Regions from separate parts of the Homo sapiens genome. Here region 1 is linked to region 2. Evidence: promoter capture Hi-C in human tissues and cell types (Jung and others, 2019). All regions are on one chromosome and are shown on one strand. The core of a region is centred on a gene start or on the middle of the fragment in contact, and the rest is flanking DNA. Distances in the headings are between cores, read along the strand shown.

Region 1 (5,774 bases), core at 813-3,312, 51 kb before region 2:
TTCACAGTACTGTATACATACTTCTTATCAGAAAGTCAGCTACAAACTATAAGGAAAAGTGTTTTAGCTGTTTTAATAAGAATGTATTGATTTGTTTTGGGTTTTTTGTTTTTTTTTTTTTTTTTAACAGAGTCTCGCTCTGTTGCCCAGGCTGGAGTGCAGTGGTGCAATCTCAGCTTATTGCAACCTCCGTCTCCTGGGTTCAAATGATTCTCGTGCCTCAGCCTCCCGAGTAGCTGGGATTACAGATGTCCACCACAACATTGGGTTAATTTCTGTATTTTTGGTAGAGACAGGGTTTCGCCATGATGGCCAGGCTGGTCTCGAATTCCTGGCCTGAAGAGATCCGCCCACCTCGGCGTCCCAAAGTGCTGGAATTACAGGCATGAGCCACCACACTTGGCCTATTGATTTGTTTTTAATAAATGGTATCTCAGAGGCATCAAATCCATATCTAAAATTTTCTCCATGTTACAAAATCATTTTTTCATCAACATCAAATCTTGACAAAATAAATACAGATCATATACCTATGCTTAGTAATTAACAGAATAGAATTTGGAGGTTGGGTACAGTGGCTCACGTCTGTAATCTCAATACTTGGGAAGGCCTAAGAGGTAGGATCGATTGCTTGAGCCCAGGAGTTTGAGACAAATCTGGGCAACATAGTGAGACCCCATCTCTACTTTTTTTAATAAAAATATTTTTTAAAAATCAAAAATTTGGAGGACTAGCCGGGCGCAGTGGCTCACGCCTATAATACCAGCACTTTGGGAGGCCAAGGTGGGCAGATCACCTGAGGTCAGGAGATCGAGACCAGCCTGACAAACACAGTGAAACCCCATCTCTATTAAAAATACAAAAATTAGCCGGGCGTGGTGATGGGCGCCTGTAATCCCAGCTACTTGGGACGCTGAGGCAGGAGAATCCCTTGAACCTGGGAGGCGGAGGTTGCAGTGAGCTGAGATCGCACCACTGCACTCCAGCCTGGGCAACAGAGTGATACTTTGTCTCAAAAAAAAAAAAAAAGGAAGACATAGGACTAAACTCTTCAAAATGGTTTGAATACTATTGTACATTTTATTATTAGGAGTATTTAGAGAAAGAAGATATTTCCACAAAATTTCTGCAGACTAACTTTATCTGTTGCTTGAATTACATACTTAAAGACTAATATAGTGCAACATATTCACCAAATGCTTGGCATAAATATATTATGGTAAGAAAATCACTATTGACAATTTTTAATACAAAACTATAACAAATTTAAAAAGGAAACTGAACAGCTCTGATACGTGTAACAGTTACCACACTCCACTATGATGTTATTTATTTACAGTTTGTCTTCCCTTTCAACTGTGAGCCCCAAAAGGGGGAGACCATGTCATACTCATGTTTGTGTCCCCAGAGCTGAGCACAGTGTCTGGCACATAAATGTTTGATAAATTAATGAATGAGAAGATAAATAAATTCCAAGAATAATCCTCTTAGGGCTTACACCTGGTTTCCACTGTACATCTGAGTAATCCTCTCCCACTTGGACTAATTTTACTTTTGCCTTCTGGAATGATGGAAAATAATCCTCTCTCTTCCACATAAGAACCTTTTAATTAGATGAAGAAAATACATGTGGTGAGGGGGAGGGGACATCAGAATATGATTTAGGGCAGCTGTTCTCAATCCTGAATATTAGAATTGTTTTGACAGCTTTTAAACAAGAGTAGTGAGTTGGTCCCGCCCCGGTCTGGTTACCTCAGAATATGTGAGGATGGGGCCTAGGCATCGGTTTTTTTGTTCTGGTGTGTTTTGGTTTGTTTTGTTTTTTTTGAGATGGAGTCTCGCTGTATCACCCAGGCTGGAGTGCACTGGCATGATCTCGACTCATGCAACTGCCGCCTCCCGGATTCAAGTGATTCTCATGCCTCAATCTCCCTAGTAGCTGGGACTACAGGCACGTGCCACCACGCCCAGCTATTTTTTGCATTTTTAGTAAAGACAGGGTTTCACCATGTTGGCCAGGATGGTCTTGAACTCCTGACCTCAGGTGATCCTCCTGCCTCGGCCTCCCAAAGTGCTGGGATTACAGGCATGAGCCACCACACCTTGTCCAGCATCAGTTTTTAAAGCCCACAGGTGAATCCAATGTGCAGCCAAGATTTCAAACCACTGAGTTGGGGGAACTAGGTTCTATGCCAGCCTCTGCAAATAACTCTCCCTCCCCTTAGGCATTTTACTTCAGGTCTCTCAGTCTGTATTTCCGCATCTATAAAACGAGGGTAGCACCTCCCTTCATTTTACACAGTTGTTAAAATCTAAGGAGATCATGTACAGTCAATGCTCTGAAAAAGTTGAAATTGCTAAATAATTGTTATGACATTAAAGATACTCTTTCCATGTATAGACCAGATCACCAACAAGAAAGGGAATTTTTCCTGATGGTCATACAACAAAGACCTGACTAGATAAAAGCTGGGAGAGTCAGGGGTGGCATAAGCGAGGTTTGAGTTAAACACAAGCTTCACTTGAGCCAACACTGTTTTCAAAAGCTAATGCAATCTTAGAATGCATCAGTAGAATTCCAGTGTCAGGGACAAGGGAGGTAATAATCCCATTTATATTCTGCAATGGTCAAACTATAACTGGAATATCCTGTTCAGTTCCAAGTACCTCATTTTAAGAAGCCATTAAGAGACTAGAGTGTGTCCAGAAGAAGATGATTTGACTAATCTGGAAATCATGTCACATGAAAAATGGTTAAGGAACTGGGGATGCGTGGCCTACAGAAGAGACGGGTGGGAAGGGGGAGCTGTCTTCCTAAGACTGAAGGGCTGTCATGTGGAAGAGGAAGACCTATTCTCTATTATACCACAAGCAGAAATAGGAAGTTACTGGTATGCACAAAGCATAATAAAGAACTTTGATAATATGTCACTCAAACAGTGTGCATCAAAATCCCTGGATGTGCTCACTTTATATAAAGATTCCTGGGGCAGGGCGCGGTGGCTCACACCTATAATCCCAGCACTTTCAGGGGCTGAGGCAGGTGGATCACCTAAGGTCGGGAGTTTGAGACCAGCCTGGCCAACCAACATGGTGAAACCCCATCTCTACTAAAAATACAAAAATTAGCCGGTCCTGGTGGTATGAGCCTGTAATCCCAGCTACTGGGGAGGGTGAGGCAGGATAATTGATCGCTTGAACCCAGGAGGTGGAGGTTGCAGTGAGCCAAGATTGTGCCACTGCACTCCAGCCTGGGTGACAGATTAAGACTCTGTCTCAAAAAAAAAAAAAAAAAAAAAGATTCCTGGAATCCATTTCTAAAGATTTTTCCAGAGGTCTAGGATATTGCCCTGGAATCTGCATTTAAGCAAGCTCCTTGGGTGACTTTACGGACTCCTTTTATAAAAAATAATATAATCTTTATTAAAGATTTGTTGTAACATAATTCACGTACCATAAAATTCATCCACCTAAAATATAATTCAATGGCCTTTAGTATAATACATTCACATTTCAGAACATTTTCATCACACACCCCCACCCTACTGCAAAAAAAAAAAACAAAAATCCTGAACCCATTAGCAGTCACTCTCCATTTTCCCCAAATCTCCCAGCCCTTGGCAACCACTATTCTATTTTCTATATTTATAGATTTGCCTATTCTTTACATTTCATATAAATGGAATCATATTATGTGAGGTCTTTTGTAATTGGTCTCTTTCTCTCAGTATACTGTTTTCAAGGGTCATCCATATTTTAACATGTGTCAATATTTCATTCCTTTTATTGCTGAATAAAATTCCTTTGTATAGCTAGACCACATTTTATTTATCTATTCATCAGTTGATGGACATTTTAATTGTTTTCATTTTCGGCTATTACGAATAATGCTGCTATGAACATTCATGCACAGGTTATACAGACATGTTTCCATCCCCCTTGTGTAAATATCTAAAAATGGAACAGCCGAGTCACATGTTAACTCTATGTTTACCATCTAGAGGAAATGCTAGACTGTTTTCCTAGATGGCTGCACCATTTTACATTCCCACTAGCAACACATGAGGATTTTAATTTCTCCACATCTTTGGTGCCACTTGTTATTATGTATTTCTGATTATAGTCATCCTAGTGGGTGTGAAGTGGTATGTTCATGTAGTTTTAACTTGCATTTCTCTAATGGGTAATGACGTTGAGCATCACATCTTTTAATGGGCTTATTGGCCATTTGTATATCTTCTTTAGAAAAAAAATTATCCATTTTGAGAAACAATGATATTGCCAGATTAGTATGGACAATAGAGGCCAGACATGGTGGCTCATGCCTGTAATTCCAGCACTTTGGGAGGCCAAGGAGGGAGGACTGCTTGAGCCCACGAGTTCAAGACCGGGGCAACAGAGCAAAATCCCTGTATCTATTAAACAAACAAACAAAAAAAGCACAATAATGCAAGGGATAGAAAAACATCAAATGTTTAAGTCCACAAGTTCATACTCTTACAAAAAGGAAAATTATCACTAGAGGATGTTGGCAAACCAATTCATTATTTTGAAAATTGCTTAATATAAGGAGAAATGCAAACATTTATCCTGATTTCTCATATGTATTCTACACCTAGGTAAGCAAATGGCTGATGAGAGAAAACTTCACTTTAAGTAAGTGGGGCCAGGTGCGGTGGCTCATGTCTGTAATCCCAGCAGTTTGGGACCCCAAGGTGGGTGGATCACCTGAGGTCAAGAGTTCAATACCAGCCTGGCCAATATGGTGAAACCCCATCTCTACTAAAAAACACAAAAATTAGCTGGGTGTGGTGGTGCGTGCTGTAGTCCCAGCCACTTGGGAGGCTGAGGCAGGAGAATCGCTTGAATCCTGGAGGTGGAGGTTGCAGTGGGCCGAGATCATGCCACTGCACTCCAGCCTGGGCGACAGAGCCAGACTCCCTCTTAAATAAATAAATAAATAAATAAATAAATAAATAAATAAATAAAGTGGGAGAAAATCTTCACAATCTATACATCTGACAAAGGACTAATATCCATAATCTACAGTGAACTCAAACAAATTAGCAAGAAAAAAAAAACAATCCCATCAAAAAGTGGCCTAAGGACATGAATAGACAATTCTCAAAAGAAGATATACAAATGGCCAACAAACATATGAAAAAATGCTCAACATCACTAATGATCAGGGAAATGCAAATCAAAACCACAATGTCATACCACCTTACTCCTGCAAGAATGGCCATAATCGGCCAGGCACGGTGGCTCACGCCTGTAATCCCAGCACTTTGGGAGGCCGAGGCGGGCAGATCACGAGGTCAGGAGTTCGAGACCAGCCTGGTCAACACAGTAACCCCTGTCTCTACTAAAAATACAAAAAAAAAAAAAAAAAAAAAAATAGCCGGCATGGTGTGGTGAGTGCCTGTAATTCCAGCTACTCGAGAGGCTGAGGCAGGAGAATTGCTTGAACCTGGGAGGGAGAGGTTGCAGTGAGGAGAGATCCTGCCATTGCAGTCCAGCCTGGGTGACAAGAGTGAAACTCTATCTCAAAAAAAAAAAAAAAAGCCATAATCAAAAAAATTAAAAAATAATACACGTTGGCATGGATGTGGTGAACAAGGAACACTTCTGCATTGCTGGTGGGAATGTAAACTAGTACAACCACTATGGAAAACAGTGTGGAGATTCCTTAAAGAACTAAAAGTAGAATTACCATTTGATCCACCAATCCCACTACTGCATATCTACCCAGAAGAAAAGAAGTCATTATACAA
Region 2 (5,951 bases), core at 393-2,892:
AAATGTCTCGGCCAATGTGATCCGATCACTGCCGTTTCCAGAAACACACAGTAATGGCTTTTAATTCATTTCTATAAATGTTCGTTGTGCGTAAAGCCAAACTGCACGCAAAACCGCAAAACACAAAAGATCCCTCGCATGCCGTTTATAGCCAGAAGATAGGCCATCCTCTCTGCGCCCTACCCCAGAAAGCTCTCCTTACGGCAGTAAAAATTTGATGACACCCCATGCTACCTACACATCAAAATGTCATCCCACAAAGTGGAAGGGGAGCAGTGTCAGCATCCGTTGGCCTCCATGAAACGACACTGCCAGTATTCCCACCTCTAGGCAAACACGAACCCAAGTGAAGTCGATGGAAAGTTCCCACCAACCAGGCATATTTGGTTCCCTTCTGCCCCCAAGGCCAAGCAGCTCAACTGATGAGATCTGCTGTTGCACCTGCCACGGCTCTGAACCCGGGATGCTTGGCGACCCCCGGGGCACACAAAAAGGCCCTGCGGCCTAACGCGCCAGTGACCCTTCCCCGAGAGTGCATGGAGGGCCGCTGGAGCATCCCTCTCGCTGTCCACAGCGCCCGCTTCCCTGACAAAGGCCCCGTGTCAATCCATCCGAGACACAACACAGAGAAGTTGCTGGATTGCCCATCGCGGACCCGCAGCTGCCACTACCCTCTCCCGGAAAAAAACCAAACCAAACCAAACAAAAAAAACAGAACTAGGGAAGAAAAGGATGGGAGGGTACACAGCGTGAAAATCAAAATGTTCCCAAAGCTAAGCAACCTGGGTGTGCCCTGGAAGTGGGTCCTGGGGGCCCGTGGGGGAGGGGAGGGAGGGCCCGGGTGGTGGCGGTGGCTCCTCTGGGGCATGAAGGCCGAGCCAGGCGCTAGCCTAATAAAATGCCGGGTGTCGGAACGCTCAAAAGAAAACCACAAATGAAATCCCCTGCGGGCGCCAGGCCCCGAGGAGGGAGGGAGGGAGAGCGGGGCGGGCGGTCCGCAGACCTGCGGCCGCGGCCCCACCTGCCCGCCCCGCGCCCACACACACCTGCCCCGGCAGCCGCCGGGAGGCGAGGCCGCGGCTGAGGCGAGGAGGGGGCCCGACCCGGGGGTGCCGGGCGAGTGGGTCAGTCCGATGGCGGGGGCCGGGGGCCGCCTCGCTCACCTCCAGGTCGGTGTCCGCGGCCTCTGGGGCCCCGAGGATCTCGCTGGGCAGCTCGGCCAGGTCGGTGACCCGGATCAGCCCGTCGTGCAGGAAGATGGTCTCTTCCTTCACCGAGAGCCACTGCGCCGAGTCAGCGGCCGCCGCCGCCGCCGCCGCCGCGGCCGCCGACGAGCCCATGGCCCCGGCTGAAGGCTTGGCGCTGAGGAGCAGACGCCCGGCCGGGGGAAACGGAGCAGGAGCCGCCGCGATCACCAGTCCATGGCAGCGGCCGCCGCGCCCGCCAGCGGCGCCCCACTTGCTGCCTCGCCCGTGCAACTCCGCCCTAGGCGGTCCGAGTCGCCATACCCCCGACCCCGGCCCGGGAGACCCCGGCCCTGCCGCCGCCGCCGCCGCCGCCGCCGCCGCCGCCCTCAGGAGCAGGATCCGCCTCTGCCGCTCGGCAACCAACTGTCAGTGAGACGCCATGTTGGGGGCGGGGCTCCCGGCATGCCTCGCGGAGCGGACAATACAGGCCCCGCCCGCCGCTCCGCCCACCGCTCCGCGGACGAGGCCACCCGGGTGGCCTGGACGTCCGCCTAGCCCTTCGCTGCCGCCTGCCCTCGGCCTGACCTCCGCCGGCCCCTTCTCCCCCTGGCCATTCAGGGTAGCCCTGGCTTTGCAGCGCGCCAGGGAAGAGGACGCCGCTTCCCCCGTCCTGTCCCTACTCAGGTGTGCACCCCTTGCTCGGGCCCGCGCCCCCACCCTGGGCAGAGCATAGAGATCACTCCTTGTTTTCACGTTTAAATGAGATGCAAGCAAAAGGCTGGCGCAGAATAGGCGCTGCACACTTGTTCATAAGCACTTGGTAGAATCACATAGTAGATGATTAATATTGACTGAAAAGTCTAGTACCCAGTAAGCACTCAAAACCTGGTGAAAATAAAGCGTCTGTCCACAATGCTTGGTGCTCAATGCCCGACACTTAATATGTGCTCCATGAGTGGCAATTCTAATTATTGCTATGTTCGTTCCATCAGTGTTCCACACTAATTGACATACACCTTAAAAATATGCTCACTAGGCCGGGTGCGGTGGCTCACACCTGTAATCCCAGCACGGAGGTCAAGGCAGAAGGACTGCTTGAGCCCAGAAGTTTGAGGCCAGCCTGGGCAACATAGGGAGACCCCATCTCTACAAAAAATAAAAATTAGCGGGGCAGGGTGGCAAGCGTCTGTAGTCCTGCTACTCGGGAGGCTGAGGCAAGAGGATCTCTTGAACTCAGGAGGTGGAGGCTGCAGTGAGCTATTATCTTGCCACTGCACTCCAGCCCGGGCGACAGAGGGAGACCCCATCCCTCCCTCCCCACCAAAAATATATATATGCCCACCAGTGCCATTTTATAAAAACAAGAAAGGAAAACTATATGTATAAAGAACAATGCATGAACAAATACACACCAGATGTTTAAGGTGAGTTGCCATGGGAGTGTGGGGCTGGTCTGGAACTACTGAGATGAGATTGTTCTCTATTACTTGTATATTTTTATCACTTAAAAAATAATAAAACAGGCCGGGCACAGTGGCTTACACCTGTAATCCCAGCACTTTGGGAGGCCAAGGTGGGCAGATCACCTGAGGTCAGGAGTTCGAGACCAGCCTGGTCAACATGATGAAACCCTGTCTCTGCTAAAAAAAATACACAAATTAGCCAGGAATGGTTGCACATGCCTGTAGTCCCAGATACTCAGGAGGCTGAGGCAGGAGAATAGCTGGAACCCAGGAGGCGGAGGTTGCAGTGAGCCGAGATCATGCCACTGCACTCCAGCCTGGGCAACAGAGCAAGACTCCATCTCAATAATAATAATAATAATAATAATAACAATAACAATAACAGGAGAACATTAAGGTGCATACCCTTTGATCCAGCAATTCAACTTTGAGGAAGTTGTCTGAAGGAAATAATCAGACTCGTAGTCAAGGATGGATATACAGGGTTGTGTAGCTCAATATTGTTTACAAAAGGAAAAACTTATCAATCTAGATGTCCAACAATATGGGGCTGGTTAACTAAAATATGATATATCCATAAGATGGAATATTATGGCCGGGCACAGTGGCTCACGTGGGTAATCCCAACACTTTGGGAGGCCAAGGCTGGCAGATCTCTTGAGCCCAGAAGCTCGAGACCCCCTTGGGCAACATGACAAAACCCCGTCACTACAAAAAATACAAAAATTAGCCAGGCGTGGTGGTGCACACCCATAGTCCCAGCTACTCAGGAGGCTGAAGCAGGAAGATCGTTTGAGCCCAGAAGGCAGAAGTTGCAGTGATTCAGCTAAGATTATGCCACTGCACTCCAGCCTGGGCAACAGAGTAAGACCCTGTCTCAAAAAAGAAGAAAAGAAGAGGAAGAGGAGGAAGAAGAGAACAATAAATCCAGCAGTTCAGAGTTGATCAGAACCATGGAAACAATAAAACAGGCAAGTGTAATGGAATGGCCATTTCATCAAATCCTCCCAAATGTCTGAGAGGGGGAGTATTATTATTCCTACTTTCAGCTGGGAAGTCAAGACTCAGTTAGATACTTTGCTCAATGTCACAAAGCCAGTAAACATCAAAGCTCAGATGTAAACCCAGGTCTGTCCGATTTTACAACTTCAGCTTCCTTATTTTGACTGTAAGAAAACTCCTTCATTCCTTTTTTTTTTTTTTTTGAGACGGAGTCTTGCTCTGTTGCCCAGGCTGGAGTGCAATGGCATGATCTCGGCTCACTGCAACCTCTTGACTCACTGCAACCTCTGCCTCCTGGTTTCAAGTGATTCTCCTGCCTCAGCCTCCCGAGTAGCTGGGATTACAGGCGTGCACCACCATGCCTGGCTAATTTTTGTATTTTTAGTAGAGACGGGGTTTTACCATGTCGGTCAGGCTGGTCTCGAACTCCTGACCTCGTGATCTACCCGCCTCGGCCTCCCAAAGTGCTGGGATTACAGGTGTGAGCCACCGCGCCCGGCCCTTCATTCCCTTTTCCAAACCTAATAACAACTATCTATCACAATTAAAAATATATATATAGGCTGGATGTGGTGGCTTGCACCTGTAATCCCAGCATTTTGGGAGGCTGAGGCAGGCAGATCACCTGCGGTCAGGAGTTCGAGAGCAGCGTGGCCAACATGGCAAAACCCTTTCTCTACTAAAAAATATATAAAAATTAGCCAGGTGTCGTGGCGTGCACCTGTAGTCCCAGCTACTCAGGAGGCTGAGGCAGGAGAATCACTTGAACCCAGGAGGCGGAGGTTGCGGTGAGCCGAGATAGCGCCATTGCACTCCAGCCTGGGCAACAAGAGTGCAACGCTGTCTCTAAATAAATAAATAAATAAATAAACAAGCAAAATTAGGTGAGCATCGTGATGTGCAGCTGTAGTCCTAGCTACTTAGAAGGCTGAGGTGGGAGGATTGCTTGAGCCCAGGAGGTTGAAGCTGCAATGAGCCATGGTTGTGTCACTGCACTCTAGCCTGGGTGACAGAGAGAGACCCTGTCTCTATTATTTATTTTATTTTATTTTTTTTGAGACAGAGTCTTGCTCTGTCACCCAGGCTGGAGTGCAGTAGTGCAATCTTGGCTCACTGCAACCTCCATCTCCTGGGTTCAAGTGATTCTCCTGCCTCAGCCTCCCGAGTAGCTGGGATTACAGGCATGTACCACCACGCTCGGCCAATTTTGTATTTTTAGTAGAGGCGGGGTTTCACCATGTTGGTCAGGCTGGTCTCAAAGTCCTGACCTCAGGTGATCCACCCACCTCGGCCTCCCAAAGTGCTGGGATTACAGGCATGAGCCACTGCGCCTGGCCCATTTTATTTTATTTATTTATTTCGAGATGGAGTTTCACTCTGTCACCCAGGCTGGAGTGCAATGGCTAGATCTTGGCTCACTGCAACCTCCGCCTCCCGGGTTCAAGTGATTCTCCTGGTTCAGCCTCCCGAGTAGTTGGGATTACAGGCACCCACCACCACACCCGGCTAACTTTTGTACGTTTAGTAGAGATGGGGTTTCACCATGTTGGCCAGGCTGGTATTTTTTCATTTTTAAAAAAATTTTTTTAGAGATGGGCTCTGCCTGTGTTGCCTAGGCTGATCTCCAACTCCTAGCCTCACGTGATATTCACACCTTGGCCTCCCCAAAGCACTGGGATTACAGGCATGAGCCACTATGACCGGCCCATCACAATTTTTAAATGCTTAGATTCAGGACTCTAACCATCTTAAATAGTTCAGATAAAATTTCTTCTATACTTAGTCTTATTTCTTCTACTCTTAATGATGTTTTAAGATCAGGAGTCAAGGTGCCCAGGAACTCTTGTCCTTCAGCCTAAGTGATGAAAACAGCACAGATCTAGGGCTTAAAGTCTTTAGACTGCATAATGAATAGTTATTTAATATTTTAGCAACAGTAATTAATTAGTCATAGGACTGCATGGCTGCCACTGCACCATGATGAGGCAGCTGATGAATTAATATTTATAGAACCCCCTCCGGAAAGGAGACCATTTAGTAGGGATTTCTAGAACAGATCAGCAAGACAAAGAAAATGCCTGGTCAAAAGAACTTTAGGTTGGAAGCTACGAGGAAGAGAATCTGTATCTAGTCTAGACAACACACACATACACACACAAGACATTCATTTATAGGAAGGAAAGATTTATGGCTTATGACTTCTTTTCTTTGGAATCGTCATTTCTACTCTTCTATTCAAGAATGGGGGATCAGGATGGGAAAAGGAGCAAGAGAAAGTGTTGGCTGGGCAACCCTAAGT

Evidence for each region. The method cuts DNA at HindIII sites, captures the fragments that hold promoters and counts their contacts. A contact is called where the count stands out against the background at its distance.
Region 1: a contact is called between a fragment that was not itself captured here and the fragment with the promoter of HECTD4 in region 2, in 1 of the 25 tissues and cell types used here (adrenal gland).

Annotation. Positions count from the first base shown.
Region 1 is chr12:112,329,263-112,335,036 of GRCh38, forward strand. The region is part of intron 1 of HECTD4 (HECT domain E3 ubiquitin protein ligase 4); the gene reads right to left. Among named protein-coding and RNA genes, the nearest start is that of HECTD4, 50 kb to the right of the region's middle. The HindIII fragment of the contact is 6,026 bases long and covers 1-5,075 here.
Region 2 is chr12:112,380,789-112,386,739 of GRCh38, forward strand. HECTD4 (HECT domain E3 ubiquitin protein ligase 4) reads right to left here and starts at 1,643. Exons shown (of 76, transcript NM_001388303.1): 1 at 1,164-1,643. The coding sequence starts at 1,340. RefSeq lists enhancers at 1-101, 1,287-1,786 and silencers at 794-1,283, 1,294-1,563, 1,674-1,963. The HindIII fragment of the contact is 28,101 bases long and covers 1-5,951 here.